Linked DNA regions of Homo sapiens: region 2 is linked to region 1. Evidence: promoter capture Hi-C in 16 types of primary human blood cells and fetal thymus (Javierre and others, 2016). All regions are on one chromosome and are shown on one strand. Each heading gives the region's core, a stretch centred on a gene start or on the middle of the fragment in contact. The rest is flanking DNA. Distances are from core to core; before and after follow the strand shown. Region 1 holds the start of CLRN3 (clarin 3). Region 2 overlaps PTPRE (protein tyrosine phosphatase receptor type E).

Region 1 (7,357 bases), core at 1,373-3,872:
AAGCTGTGGAAATTGGGGACTCTAATGCAAAATGCTGTTGGCAGGAATTTAAATTGGGACACACTTTCAGCTGGTGAACACATATTTTTGGTTGACTCAACAATTCTCCTTCTCAGAATTTATCTCAAGGAAATACCTAGAAAGGTTAGCAAGGTCGAACATAAAAGGAGTATCACCACATCACGGGTACAGCAGTGAAAAGCTAGAAACAACCTCAATGTCCACCAAAAAGGGTTTGTAGAAATAATTTGTGGTTGCTTTATACAATGGTAAATGTGATCTATTGACATGAAAGGATTGCCATGGCAAGTTGTTGAAATTTTTATGAAGCAGATTATAAAATAGAACATAGAGTAGGACTCAATTGTATTATAAATGTGTGCATGGTGCTACACCAGATGTTTGTCTCCTCTGAAACTCATATTGGTGAGTTTCAGTGTGGCAGTATGGAAAGTTGTCACTTTTACGAGGCAATGGAATTATGAGGGCCCTGCCCTCATGAATGTATTAATTATTTCATGGACTAATGGATTAATGGATCGATGGGTTTTCTCCGGGGTGGGACTGGTGGCTTTATAAGAATAGGAAGAGAGACCTGAGCTAGCACTGTCAGCCCACTTGCTATCTGGCCACCATGATGCGCGCCCTGTGCCACCTCAGGACTCAGAATCCTCACTAGCATGAAGGCCCTCACCAGATGCAGCCCCTTGACCTTGGACTCCTCAGCCTTTAGAGCCATAAGAAATAAATTTCTGTTCTTTATAAATCACCCAGCCTCAGGTGTTCAGTTATAGCAGCAGGAAGCTAAGACATAAAGCTGTAGGTATGAAAGTCTTTGCCCAACTGTGAACACAATTACTTCTTGTTGGATAAATTATTTATTATATTTACTTTCTTCTTTATTCTTGCCAGTTCCATTTGAATACATTTTTGTAATAGGCCTATGTAATACAAAATACAATAATAAATACAAAATTATTTTCCACACTAGGAATAGGGCCAGAAGGAACTAACTACTGAAATTCTGTCCCACCCTTTAAAAGTGTGGTCAAAATAAATAGACTTAAATGGAAAAAATAGTAAATTTTCCCAATAATATACATGTTTTGAGGATGTAGGAAAGTGTGCACCTTCATTGTGTTAAGGGCATGGTGGGTGACTGGTATCTTTTTCTAATGAGCAGCTGGGCAATGTGTAGCAACAGCTTCAGTAACATTCACAGACTTTGACTCACTTCTAGAAGTCTAACCAAAGAAATAATCAGAGATATGGACAAAGGTTTATGCATAAGGATGTTCATGCATTGTTCTTCCTTAATCATAATTTTAAGATAGAAACAACATAAGTGTCCACAGTAGTAGAGTATGTGTGTACGTATCTCCAATAATTTATTGAACAAATGTTTGCTGAGTGTCTTCTCTGGGCCAGGCTCTTTGAGAGTTCCCTGGAATCCAGTGGTACACAAAACAAACATGTCCACCTCCCGGAGCATGTCATCTAGTTACAATAACGGAAAAGACAGATGATCAGCTAGTTCCACAAATAAGTTAGGTGTTAATGAAGAAAAGTAGAGGATGAAGTAATTGCGTTTTTTTGCCATTAAAAGTAAATGTAACTTTTAATGGCAAAAACTGCAATTACATTTGCACCAACTTAATATTATATTACTAAATAATCAAAGAATACAGTAAAAAGCGGTATGGAAAACATGCTATGAATGTCTATTTATCATCTCAAGAAATGATCTTTTCGCCAAATGGGAGAGTTTTTCGAAAGTCCAGAAATGACCATTTATAAACTATTTACCATTCAACAGAGTGGATACAGCTATAACGACCAAAAACAAGAATGTTCAGAACCATCTCTATCAGAGTACTAAAAAGTAATAAAGATGAAACTTCTCAAGATATAATTTAAATAATACGCAAATATGATCCAATTTGAAAGAGGAAATTTGAAAGCCAAACCTCTCTGATAAAGTCTAAAAATAGAGAGGTATAAAACATAAGGAGGTGTAAGCTTTTCTCTTTCCACTCCACAGTACATTTGACAAAGGTTTACCCTCCTTAGGATTCCTCTTGGAACAATTATAAGAGTCAAATCACTAATGAGTAAAGAAACTGAGCAATGCATAGCAAAAACTTCAGAAAAATCCACAGACTTCGTCAAACTTCTAGAAGTTTAAGCAAGGAAGCAAGTGGAGATATGAACAAAGGTTTATGCCTAAAGATATTTGGGTGTTGTTCTTTCTCAATCATAATTGTGAAATTGAAGCAACATAAATATCCACAATAGTGAAGTATATGTTTACATATTTCCAATAATTCTTGGAGGAGTTGGGGTTTCATGTTGTTGTCTGCTAGACTCAGCAACGCTTTGGGAATACAGATCCTCCACGCCCTATTATTTAGGAATTCTACTCCTGTCATGATATGGTAGGCTAAACTTGCTTCCATGACACTTGGCCAAGGATTATAAATTAATTGCATGATTGAGGAAGTCCCTGGGAAGACCATGCCCACCCCTTGTTCATGCTGGTTGGCTGTAACCATAGCAGCCTCTTACTCCAGACCAAAGTTCAGCTACTGTTAATTTTATGGCCATGTTCAGAGTTCAATGTCCATTAGCATAACCCTTCCTCAGGAAGAGTGAGATTTTATATTTGACAATAAAGTGTTAGACTCCATTTCTAAATACCAGACTTCAAAAGATAAGGTTCAAAAGTGTTATAAGAAGATATTCCTTTTTTTGTCCTAGAGAACTTATTTTCCTGTGAAAATGCCTACCACAAAGAAGACATTGATGTTCTTATCAAGCTTTTTCACCAGCCTTGGGTCCTTCATTGTAATTTGCTCTATTCTTGGGACACAAGCATGGATCACCAGTACAATTGCTGTTAGAGACTCTGCTTCAAATGGGAGCATTTTCATCACTTACGGACTTTTTCGTGGGGAGAGTAGTGAAGAATTGAGTCACGGACTTGCAGAACCAAAGAAAAAGTTTGCAGGTAAATGATAAACTAATTTGAATGAATATAGTGAGATTGAATTAAGGTTTATGTCATTCTATATTTGGGCCAAATAACCATTCAAAAATAATTTCTTTGTAAGTTTTGGGTTAGGCTGAAGGTACAAGCTTAACTCATAATTTTGGAAATTTGCCATGTCATTATTTGAGCTTCCTCGGTTCTCCTTGTGTCTATTAATACAATAGTCTATATCATTCTAGCAGTGGCTGTATTTAAATAATACCTACCAAGTTGACTGACAAGTAAATAAGTAAAAATATGTGGCAGCAATACGGCATTGAATAGCCAGTAGGAACACATGTTTTAACTGTATTGACTGGGTTTTTAGCTGGAGCCACAACCTCTGTCTAGAACTTCACAAGTGGCATCTATGCAGGAAAGAGTAAAATGGAAAATTTATTATCTCTATTTCTCAAGTTCATTTCTTTAACTGATTTTAATTTACCTCCAAAAAATCTAATCGTTGGAAATTATATTAAATTTCCATTAATTTATTAATTGTATATTTGATAGGAATTCCTAAACATTTTTTTTTCTGATTTCTTATATAATAATGCCCTCCTCTCCATGGAAGTAAAATTAAAAGTTCATTGAGAATAATAAGTTGATTTAGCTACTTATTTGACTTTTGAGGTTTGATAACCTACCTTCATGTTTTCTAAATTTAAAAACATTTGTAAATTATGTAACACATTAAGTGGACTTTGTTTTGAACAATGTTGTATGCAAGTATTATACAGGCATTATTGGGTATCATACAGTCATTACCTTTTGACTTATAAATATGCATCATTTTCTACCTTATACACATGTAATGTTTAGTCCTTGTGTAATGCATGAAGAAGTTTGAGTCCTAGACACTAGCTCTAAGTTCTAGCTCTAGTGTGTTTATGACTTTGTTAATGAAACTATTTTCTTAAATCCAAAGCAACCTGGTTATGTTCCCAAGTTATACATTTGTCATTTAGATGTTAGCAAAAGCAGCATCTCCCCTAGCATTGCCATAGCCTTTCAGGGACATCTCCTCTGGTGTCAACCTCAGCTTCCCATAAGGATGGGGAACATTGGCTTTACAGCAACTTTCAGAGACTCAGTCATGCTTTCAGTTATGTGAATAGCATTTTCAAAACCAAAAACTGCCCTGAAGCCTCAGACACATTTAACAAATTTTAAGTAAGAGACAAAACCTACAGTTTTTTTTGGTTTCCATATGGTGTCTGTTTGGAACCAGTTGATTTCCAATTTGAGATAAATGGCTTCAAAGAAAGCATCAACTATCTCTATGCACGGAGACTCAGAGGAGGCCAGGATGTGTCAGGACCTGGCTCTAAAGCCCTGTGTGCATGCAGGTGAGCATGGTGATGTCAGGGGACCAGAGCAGGCACTTGTCAAGGAGAGCCCTGAAGGGGCCCAGGGCCAGGTAGGTGCGGCAGCCCAGGTGGGAGCACAGCCAGGCAGAATATTTGCCTTCCCTTTGCTGGATCTCTACTTTAAGTCTCTGTTACTGGGGAGCCACATTCTGACCTTCCCCAAGTCACTGCCCAACCTCCTAGTGCTGAAGAAGGTGAACCACCACCCAATTAATGAAGGGGCTGCACTGTCACTCTGGTTGACACCTAAGGACCTCTCAGAGCCTAGGGGATCTTTATTGCCAATGATTGTAATAATCGCTGGGCTTGAACACCTGTAAGCAGTTCTCTCAGACAGGGGAAAGTCATGTTACTGAAATCTTCAACTTGCGGTGTTCAGCTGCTAACGATCCCGGGATGCTTCTCCTGGGAGCAGCCCTGCAGTGTGTACATGGAGACGTGGGTGCTCTCCTGTGGTTTCTCGTGGTCACTTGGGGCTTTTTTCAAATCAGAAACCAACCATTGGCAGCACAATCAAATCTGTACAAACGCCCCTTTCTTGCCCAGCGGTGGTGGACTGACTGTTCCAATTGAGAATTTAACCATATCAGCTTCTTGGCTAGCATGAGGTCACATCAAGAGTCCCCCAAGAGTAATAATTATTGCAAAGCTCTGCTATATTTCTGCATGGTATTTATCATATTGAGCCAATTTTGACTGTAGATTTGAAACGAAATAGCAGAAGGAAGCAATGACAGCTGATTTCAAAGTGCCAAAATAATTCAGCCAACATTGGTCAATCTGTGGGGAAAATCGTCCTTCAGACCTGGTAAGGAAATCCTCCAGTGTGTAACTGGAGGGTGCGGGCAGCTCAGGCTGACTTGCTGCATCCTAGTTTGTCCAACATCCAGATGAAAAGTGACAGGTCCTGTATGTCCATCTGTGAGCAGGTTGTCTTTGCTACTCCCAAAGTTCTGGAGATCTAATTTCTGTTCAAAAAAACTTCCCTGAGCAGCTGCTGCATGTATAAGGGGCTCAGGATACTGAAAGGAATTGCACATGGTTCCTGGCCTTGGAGGGCTCACCATTCAGTGTGAGATTAAGACCCTTCCTCAGCTAAAATCAGTGCCCTGCACTCACTGCTGGAGCATGGTATGTGCAGGTCTGCATGCAAGCAAGGGGGTTGGGGGAAATGCATGTCTGCAAAGCCCAGTTGGAGGACAGAATCCTGAAAAATGAGCTGCTAGGAGGTGTAAGCTCACACTGTGGACACCCACCTCCTTCTCGGTTCTGGATCTTGGGTGCCATGTAAAAAGAAGTCATTCCTTTAACTCTGTGTTTTGAAAATGTGGTCAGGGCCCCGGAAGCACAATGTGCTCTGTTTCCTCACACTGGCAAACATGACAAAATGAGTCATTCACATTTAGGACATGGAATTCCTGTGAATGTCGTTTCAAATATTACTCAGCCTACGCACTGACCAGAACTTATTTTTTACAGAATCATTTTGACAGGAAAAGTGTTTATGATAGTTTTGTTGTTGTTGTTGTTGTTTTGTTTTTTCATCACCCAGGCTGCTTCACACCCAGACTGGAGTGCAGTGGCGCCATCTCGGCTCACTGCAATTTCCACCTCCTGAGTTCAAGCAATTCTCGTGCCTCAGCCTCCCTAGTAGCTGGGATTACAGGAATACACTACAACACCCGGCTAATTTTTGTATTTTTAGTAGAGACAGGGTTTCACCATGTTGGCCAGGCTGGTCTCAAACTCCTGACCTCAAGTGATCCACCCACCTCGGCCTCCCAAAGTGCTGGAATTACAGGCATGAACCACTGCGCCCGGCAAGATTTTTCTTTTCTTTTTTGAGACAGCGTCTTGCTTTGTCGCCCAGTCTGGAGTGCAGTGGTGTGATCATAGCTCACTGCAGCCTCTACCTCCTGGGCTCAAGAGATCTTCCTGCCTCAGCTTCTGGTGTAGCTGGGATCACCAGCACACACCACCACACCCAGCCACTTTTCTTACGTTTTGTAGAGACAGGGTGTCACCAGCCCAGGATGGACTTTATTATGAGAGATATTTCTCCTCATGTGACACTGCACTCTTTGTTCTCAGTTCCAAGAACAGTCTGATTTGCAGATGTGTGGGACTTTGAGCAATCACGTTGCCTACAGCGGAAGGTAGACTCACCTGGGATGCGGGTGAGGCATCCCCACCCTGGACCAAATGAATAGCAATCTCCGCGGGGTGAGGCCCTGACCTGCTCGTTTTTTAAAAATCTTCCCAGGTGATCCTAATTGAGTGTTGACAACAACCAGCTTCCACCAAGGCCAGGCACTAGATTGACAGGCATGGCTGTACTGGGTATTGTTTTTTAAGTCCTTTGGATGTGGCCTGCTTGAAATTAAATTAATTTATTGGCAAAAGCTCTGGACAACCTTGCAAAGGAAGCAAGGCAGACTGAGGGAAAGCTCAGCTCCCGGCTGGTCTTTGAGTGCTGCGTCCGAGTCAGGATTCACTGCAGCTGGCGGGAGTCTCTCCCCATCTGGCACTCCCCCACCCGCTAGTCTCTTTCCTCCACTAACCTCCATGTGTTCTCAGGGAGCTCAACATTGCACCATTAGGCCAGGCTAAAAATAATTAGAAAAATAGACCTTCTGCAGAAACTAATGAATTGCAAAGAGAAGAACAAATGAAGTTTATTTCTCCAGAATTCATAAAGAGCCCCCACCTTACTACTCCTACCCTGTCCACATAAGGAGATTCTCCTGGAGAGCAGGTTCATCATCTGCCCCCAGAGATATAACCACACTGTGATGGGGAGAGTAGAGAGGACAAAGAGGGTGCCCTCCCAAGCTCAGGCCACTTCTCCCTAAGGAACCCTGGCAACTTTCTGAGAGGCTGGGGCACCAGCCTGGGCTCCCTGGGAGAGCTACCAGGCCACACTTGGAGATCTGTTGATAGAATGAGCTCCTCCCATGGG
Region 2 (7,357 bases), core at 1,726-4,225, 140 kb before region 1:
ACTGGACTAAACTTCTGTGGGTAGGTTTACGCTACACTTTTGATTTCAAAGAAATCCATCAGCTGCCAGTTGAGGGAGACTGTAGACTCAAGAGTACCTGCTGGTTGGCTTATGTATTCATCCATGCATTCATTCAGCATTGGTTACTAAGAGTTGACTGCCAGGATGTGGAGAGACAACTAAACAAGACCAACACTGCCCTTGGCCCCTCCTCCCACCTCCCCACTTCCAAAGCTTGCGATTCAGCCAGAGAGAGAAAAGACTTCAATAACTAGAATGCAACTGCCATGTGTTAGGCGGGGGAAGCACACGATGTGGTAGGGGCGCCCTGCAGGGTGCCTGCCCCTGTCTAGAGGGGTCTGGAGGGCTGCCTGGGGAGAAAGGGAGTCAGCCGGTCCAAGGAGGCTGGGGAGGTGAGGGAGGCCTGCAGGGGACAGAGAGCACAGGGCCCTGGGAACCCACAGAACCTGAATAGGACGCGGGCGACCAGGAGTCTCCCCTGGCAACGCCAACCCTCAGTGTTCAGAGATGTCCAGGAAGACCTTGCCGGCAGGATTATCCATGCACGCGGCACTGCTCAAAGCAGAGGCCAACTCTCATGCAGGTCTCTACCCTGGTGCCTTCTCAGAGCTGCCACAGAGGAGGTGCTCCACGGGTGTTTTTAAAGGAATCGCCATGAAGAAATAAGGTGTCGGGGACTGACACGTGGATTCTCTCCAGCACATCAACTCACGGCACTTTCTGAAGGGCCCGGGCCACGGAGCCTGAAGACCCAGCTGGTTCGACGTCTCTCTCTGCCTCTCTTTCTCATTAACTCTCATCCTTTCTCTCTCTCTCTCTTTCCCCTCCCTCTACCCCCAGAGGAGGGCCTTTTCCAGAACACTTAACCTCTCTGCGCCTGCTTCCCAATGAGTGAAACAAGAGAATCCCACGAAATCATAAATGAGTGAGTCTTGTAAACTGTAACTCATCAGGCAAGGGCTGGTTATTGTAACGGCGTGGCCCCGTTGTTCGCCAGGGCAGCAGCCATGCTGCGGGAAACTGCAAACTCAGCAAAGCGAACGGTGGTGTTTGCTGAGTGGACACGGTCTCTGCCACCAAGTCTTCCTGGGAAGGCCTCGGAGGGGTGAGGGAAGCCCACATGGGGAGCCTCTGCCGTTTCCAAAAAGGAGCCTGCAATTCCGGAGCCTGCATCTCCACTGGGATCTGTGCCTGTGTCTGCCCCCTGGGTCTTTCTTTGAGGTTTTTCATCCTCCTGTGATGATTGGTGGGGGGATGGAGATAAGTGTCCTGTCCCCGCCCCCAGAAGAGCAATCTCTCTACAAAACTCTTTCAGAAGCAGCCTGGGCGGATCTGACTGCTGAGGCATTGATGCCCAGGAGCTGTCTGTGCAGGCAGGTGGGTGGAGGAAGCTGGCGGCCCCTAAGACCCCAGCCCTGGTGATGCCCACTGTGGGGGCCTTAGGCAGGCCTGGGCTTACAGTCCGTCTCAGCTCAACTTGGACACATGCCGTCTTTTCTTCATCCTCCTCTTCTTGAAAGGCTTGTTTATTCAGCTGGAAAATAGACGTTTTTCAGCAGATTTTCTCTATTCAGAAATAGACTAAAGCTTCTGCTGGAGTCTGGCATTATCCCAGAGAATGGAGACCCACGGGCCTTCAGCAGTGCACCGCCCTCAGGGAAGTCATCCAGTTTGGGCATCCTGACTCGGTTCTCCCACAGTGTCCTTCTCATCTGCTGTAGCCGAGGTCAGGGAGAAGGCCCTGGGTGGTGTCTGGGCTGAGAGGGTCAATTGTGCCACCTGCTTCAGACGCCCCATGGGCTGGCGACTCTTCTGGTCTTTAGTGCTGACACCCACAGGCCTGGCTCACAGTGGGTGCTGGGTCAGGGCTGGTGGAGAACAATAGTGCTGAGCCAGGACCCGCCCATGTGTTAGAGAAAGGCAGCAGCTTGGAAACCTGTAGGTGGGTCTTCCATCCACTAAGTCACCAAGAACTAGGAGCCTGCAGCCAGTTGAGAGGATTCTTGAGGTGCTCTGCCCCCAGCTGGGGCCCTGAGCCCCCACGAGCCTTCCGCCTGGGGCATCTGATGACTCACGTGCACCACAGCACAGCAGCCCAGTGGGCTGGGAGTTGGGAGCTGGAAGATGAAAGCCACCCACTCTTATCTGCCTCCGAGGAGTCGCAATCAAGAGGGAGGATGCCCCCATAAGGTAAATAACCACAGGACGGGGCATGTGGGGCAAAAGGCAACTGCAAAGTGGAGACAAATCCCAGCGGGAGGCCTCTGGGGGGACCCTGAGCAGAGACGGAGCAGGATAGCGCTCCTCGAGGAGGACAGCTGAGGCCAGAGGGGACAGCATTCGGGACGAGGGCCAGACGTCTGGGGTGGCCAGGGCTGGGCCGGGGCAGGGTGGAAGTGAGTGGCCATGGGTGGGGACTGGGTCGCATCCCAGAGGGTCTCAAGCCCTCCGCAGGGATGGAGGCTTCTTCCTGGGAGCAGATCCCGACTCCTGGCCTTGGCTTCGTGTTCTGGGAATGAAGGCATCAGAACCCAAGACCAAGGAACCCTGGGCCCCGGCGGGCTGCTCAGCTGTGCCTGAGGGGGTGGGGTCTCGGGGACAGATGGGGCTGCCGCTTCTGCTGGGCGCTGAGGGCCAGCCTCCTGCAGCGAGGCAGTGGCCTTCTGCAACCTGTCCACATTGGGGGGCTGAGCCAGGGCCAGGTGTGCTGTGTACCATCTCACCTTTGCCCCATTTTTCCTAAGAAATGCAGATTCTGTGACCTTCAGAGGCAGCTGGAGAAAGAAAAGATGGAGGAGATCACGGCCCAGCAATTCCAGCCTGGGGCGGGCGCGGGCTCAATGATATCCTTCAGGTCCTAATCCCCGAGTGTGGCTGTGTGTGACCCGAGTCCCTTCTGCCTGCCAGGAGTGAGGCCACCTGAGGTCGCAGAAAGGACTGGGGAGGAGACAGGCGCAGGGTGATCCGGATCCCATATTTAATTGATGGTAAGGAGGCCTCCTCACTTCTCCCTGAGCCTGACAAACATGGCTAACCTCCTTTGGAGAAAGTTCTGTGAATAATGTGTCTGCCGCAGGCTGGCGAAGTACAGTGTTCTCCAGAAATCCAGTGGTCTGCACCATCAGTGTCCTGGGCTCGCTGCCTCTGGAGACTCCCACGCCCCCAGCCAAAGCCGGAACCCTCCCCTGAAGCCTCTGCCATGGCCTGTCCTGCCTTGGGGAGGTGGAGACCCTCGGCGTGCTGGTGTCCCACCTCACTGTGCCTCTCAGCTTCTTTGTTTCTGCCCAAAATACAGGCTCCTGAGTAGCCTCCTGTGGGTGTCCTGGGACTGTCACCTGCCCTCTTTCAGCCAGGTGGGCTCAAACGTCAGGGGCACCATCTCTGGTCCAGATTGGGGTCTCTCTCGGTTCATTTATCCAGGATCTTTTGGCAAAAAGAGAAAGACCAAGGATTATCCCCTTTCAGGAGAGCTCAGCCTGCTTTTTCGGGCTCTTCAAGGCCCATCCATTCATGCACGGAGAAATAACACGAATGCTGGTGTGGAAATGATGCCCGGATACCTTTCCAAAGGCTCCATAGCCCACTCTTCCAGTATCCATCCTGGTCATGCAGGCGCTGACCCACATGTTTCTGGATTAGGAAGGAAAGCAAAGGCCAGGAGGCGGAGGCTGACCCCTTTATCTTCTGATAAACCCGAGAGCAGAACAGCCTCAACAAGGACGATTACAGCAGGGAAATGGCATTCCTGGCCAGTGGACAAGCACCTCCTTTAACCTACAGCTCAGAGCCTCACTTTGACTTGCCTCCTGTGGGGTGCTGGTCAGTAGGGGCTGAATTCTGGGGTGCTAGGCATCCCTCCACCATGCAGGCCCCACAAAAGCAGCCGAGGAGGGAGAGTGCTAGGAAGCAGACAGCCACACAGACCACTGGGCTCCATCAGGCCTCTCACTGCAGGAAGCACAGGCCAGCAAGGCCAGAGTTAATTTCTCAGAATAATTGCTAATAATACAAATCAACCTTTCTGGGCACTGAGTACACACCAGGCCCTGTGCTAAGCGCTTCTAACCTAAGCGTCACCTCATTGCCTGCTAATACCCTCTCTAGGAAATAGGGACTACTATAAGTCCTGCCCACAGACATGAAAACCACAGCTGTGGGTTGACCCTCTCTGCGTCTGTATCTAATACTGCACCTGTTTTCTATGAAATCAGGACAATATGATTCATAGGGCAAAATGATTATTTGTTACACATGGAGAAAAACAAAAGCTCAAAGTATGTTTTCTGAAGGAGAAACAAAATCCAGACATTTTCCAAGCTTCAAGTGTGAATATACTTACATGGATGAAAGATTTAAAGAATAACAATAAAAAACCCTTAATGGTAAAAATTTGTTGACTCAGCATGTTTCAGATGTAGCCACGGTGAGCTGGCCTCTTTGGAGACAGCTTTGCTTGTTAAAGAGAAAAGGATGCAAAGGGCTTGCTTTTTATCTCAGTTGGTGAAGGTTGGAGCTGAATGTTTTGAACAAAAGTAATTGCCTATGTCTAAATGTAAAATCACTGAAACACTACTAAAAGACTGGCAAAGAAGTCCAGTGTTAAGAGAGAAAAAGTGGGAGGGGAAACAGGCAGAGAAATAAGGATGAGGGGCTTGGTGGTGTCCCTGGTCTGGCTATCACTGCAGGGACCTGAATGGGTCCACAGTGTCCTCCAGGGGTCTGGGCAGGGGACCAGCCATGCTCCGGACAAGCCCGAGCTGACCCACTGGAAGTGGGCGTTGTTCTATATCTTCCTTCACTGAAGACAGACTGGGGAGAGGTCAGGTGCCAGCCAGGTGGAAAGGAGGAAGGGATAAATACTGCTTTGTGCTGGCTGGCAAGCGTGCAGGGGGCCTCTCGCCAGACCCTCCCCTGACAGTAGCCCAGACAGGCAGTGCCCCTTTGCCTTGGAACACAGATGGATGAGGACAGGGAGGTCAGAGATGGTGAAGCATTTGCCCACCGCACCTGGCTGGCCAACCAGAGAGGCGCTGGGGGTTTGAGGGAGGAAGTGCTGTGTTCTTTCTTCTGCAGCCTGGGGCCCACCTGGGCCGTGCAGAGTCAGGCCACATAGCCACCCACCATGCCTGCATGCTTGGCCTGCCAGGGATGGGTTGTTTTGGGGTTTCTGGAGATACATGGGAGACTCTCGGGGTGCTGGAAAGTGAATTCTGAGCACACCCTGGGAGATTGTACTTCTGGAAGTACCTGGCTCTGGCTGCCAAAGAAAGGCAGCCATGGACAAAAATATTTGTCTCCCTCCCCATATAAACATGCCCCCTGCACCCTATACACACAAGCCAGGTGTGTTCAGAGGCATCTGAGGTCCCTGGGGAACAGACAGTGCCCTGGGAAAGGGGGTGACCCAGGAGGCTGCTGGGAGCTGGGGAGGGGCTGCTTCCCTGGGTCCCCTGGAGCAGGTCCTGGTGGCAAAGTCCAGCCCGACATGTAGGGCTCTGTGGGCAGTGCTGCCCTCAGACCCGAATCCAGTGCAGGCAGGGAGGCCCCAGGGTTTGGGGAGTTCCTGGGGGGATGAAGAATGGCACTGGGCTCCCTCCACATGAGGCTGCATGGAGAAGCTGCAGGGTCTGGGAGGAGCTCAGGATGGGGGCACAGGGTCCGGCTCTGACGCCCAGGCCTACTCCTGACTGTGTGGATGACTGCGGAGGTGATGTCTGCAGTTTACTCGTCTGTAAAGTGGGGCAATAAAATCTATCGCTATTTCCATACTCAAATGACCACGTCCTGACCTCACCTCTCCAGTGGGAGGCTTGGAATCTGCAGATGGGGTTTCCTTGAGTGAAGAAGAAGCTCCAGCAAAGCTAAGACAGAGAAGCTGAAGCCGTGGGTCCTCACTGGGGAGTTACAGCACTGACCCCATTCCCTGATGCTGGCAGAGTAACAGCAAGTGGCAATTTGTCATAAAAGAATTTAAAAAATCCATTATGTCTAAGAGTTAACAATGCTTCATAATTCATTTCAGTGCTTTTTTCTGTTCTTTTTTTTTTTTTTTTTTTTTTTGAGACAGGATCTCATTCTGTCACCCAGGCTGGAGTGCAGTGGCATGATCATGGCTCATTGCAGCCTCAAACTCCTGGGCTCAAGCCATCCTCCCACCTCAGCCTCCTGAGTAGCTGGAACTACAGTTATGCACCATCATGCTTGCCTAATTTCATTTATATTTTTTGTAGAGATGGGTTCTTGCTATATTGCCCAGGCTGATCCCAAACTCCTGGCCTCGGGTGATCCTCCTGTCTTGGCCTCCCAAAGTGCTGGAAATATAGGTGTGAGCCACTGCTCAATGCTTTCTTATATAAACACTGCAGAAGCCCCAAGTGCACACCTGTGGATTATACACCAAACTTTATTTTATCAAATAATTTTTTAAAAAGCAAAAGAAATTTTAAAGCCGCAGGAAGTCCCCTGATGGGCTTCCTCCTGGGGCTCCCTGCCTGGCTTGGACTGGGCAGGCCCAGATGCTGAGGGGTGGGACCAGCACAGGCACAGGGTCTGCCCGAGGACGCAACAGCACTCCACCCAGGCCAAGGACCGGTAAGAACGCTGGCGAGTCAGCAAGTCTGTTAAGGGATAATTTCAATTTCCTGTGTGCCAAACTCTAATCCTCTAATTTGCGTAATTCCAATTACGCATAGTGTCCTCTTGAAAATGAATAAAAAGTAAAGAGCTTATCCTGTGAGAATTAAGTCTATCTGGATTCCAATAAAGATGACAGACCCACAGATAGCTGGAGACACAAGGAACCTTCTCGAAAGCACGCTTTCTCAGACCCTAAAGCCATACTTGAATTCATTTAATCAACAACCAACAAGCCCAATGGCTAATTACCCATTTAAAGAAGTGAACCTTACAATAATAGCTGGGGCCAAATAAGACAGAATGGACTATATATAGCTAGACTTTTACTGTATACATTTCCTCCCTATAGAGAAAAATTATCCTTCTTGTCTTGAAAGAACAAAGCAAGGAAGCCCTTGAGAGCCTTAAAGTGATAACTCTTCGTTCCTGAATGGGGGTCACATAAAACCAAAGATGAAAGACAAAGGTTTCCTTACCTAATCTCAAATTTGAGAACAATGTACAATGTCTCACAATTCTTCATGAGTTTCAAAGATTACCAATAATTAATTTTTCCCATCCTTGTAGTAGCTGATTGTCATTTCAAATAATATATACCACTAATACCACCAATACCAAGATACCGGTTGAATCCTTTACTCATTAAAAATTGCCACCTAAGCAGTGACAAGATAATTGTGTTTGGGATAGTCTTTGGATC

What was found. Contacts are between HindIII fragments. The CHiCAGO score rates a contact against its expected background, and 5 or more counts as called.
Region 2: a fragment that was not itself captured here is called in contact with the fragment with the promoter of CLRN3 in region 1 in 6 of 17 cell types (monocytes, M0 macrophages, M2 macrophages and 3 more); the score reaches 16.5 in monocytes.

What each region holds. Positions count from the first base shown.
Region 1 is chr10:127,888,206-127,895,562 of GRCh38, reverse strand. It overlaps CLRN3 (clarin 3), which reads left to right and starts at 2,622. Exons shown (of 3, transcript NM_152311.5): 1 at 2,622-3,007. The coding sequence starts at 2,779. The HindIII fragment of the contact is 797 bases long and covers 2,022-2,818 here.
Region 2 is chr10:128,023,883-128,031,239 of GRCh38, reverse strand. All of the region lies in intron 2 of PTPRE (protein tyrosine phosphatase receptor type E), which reads right to left. Among named protein-coding and RNA genes, the nearest start is that of AS-PTPRE, 35 kb to the left of the region's middle. The HindIII fragment of the contact is 2,730 bases long and covers 1,611-4,340 here.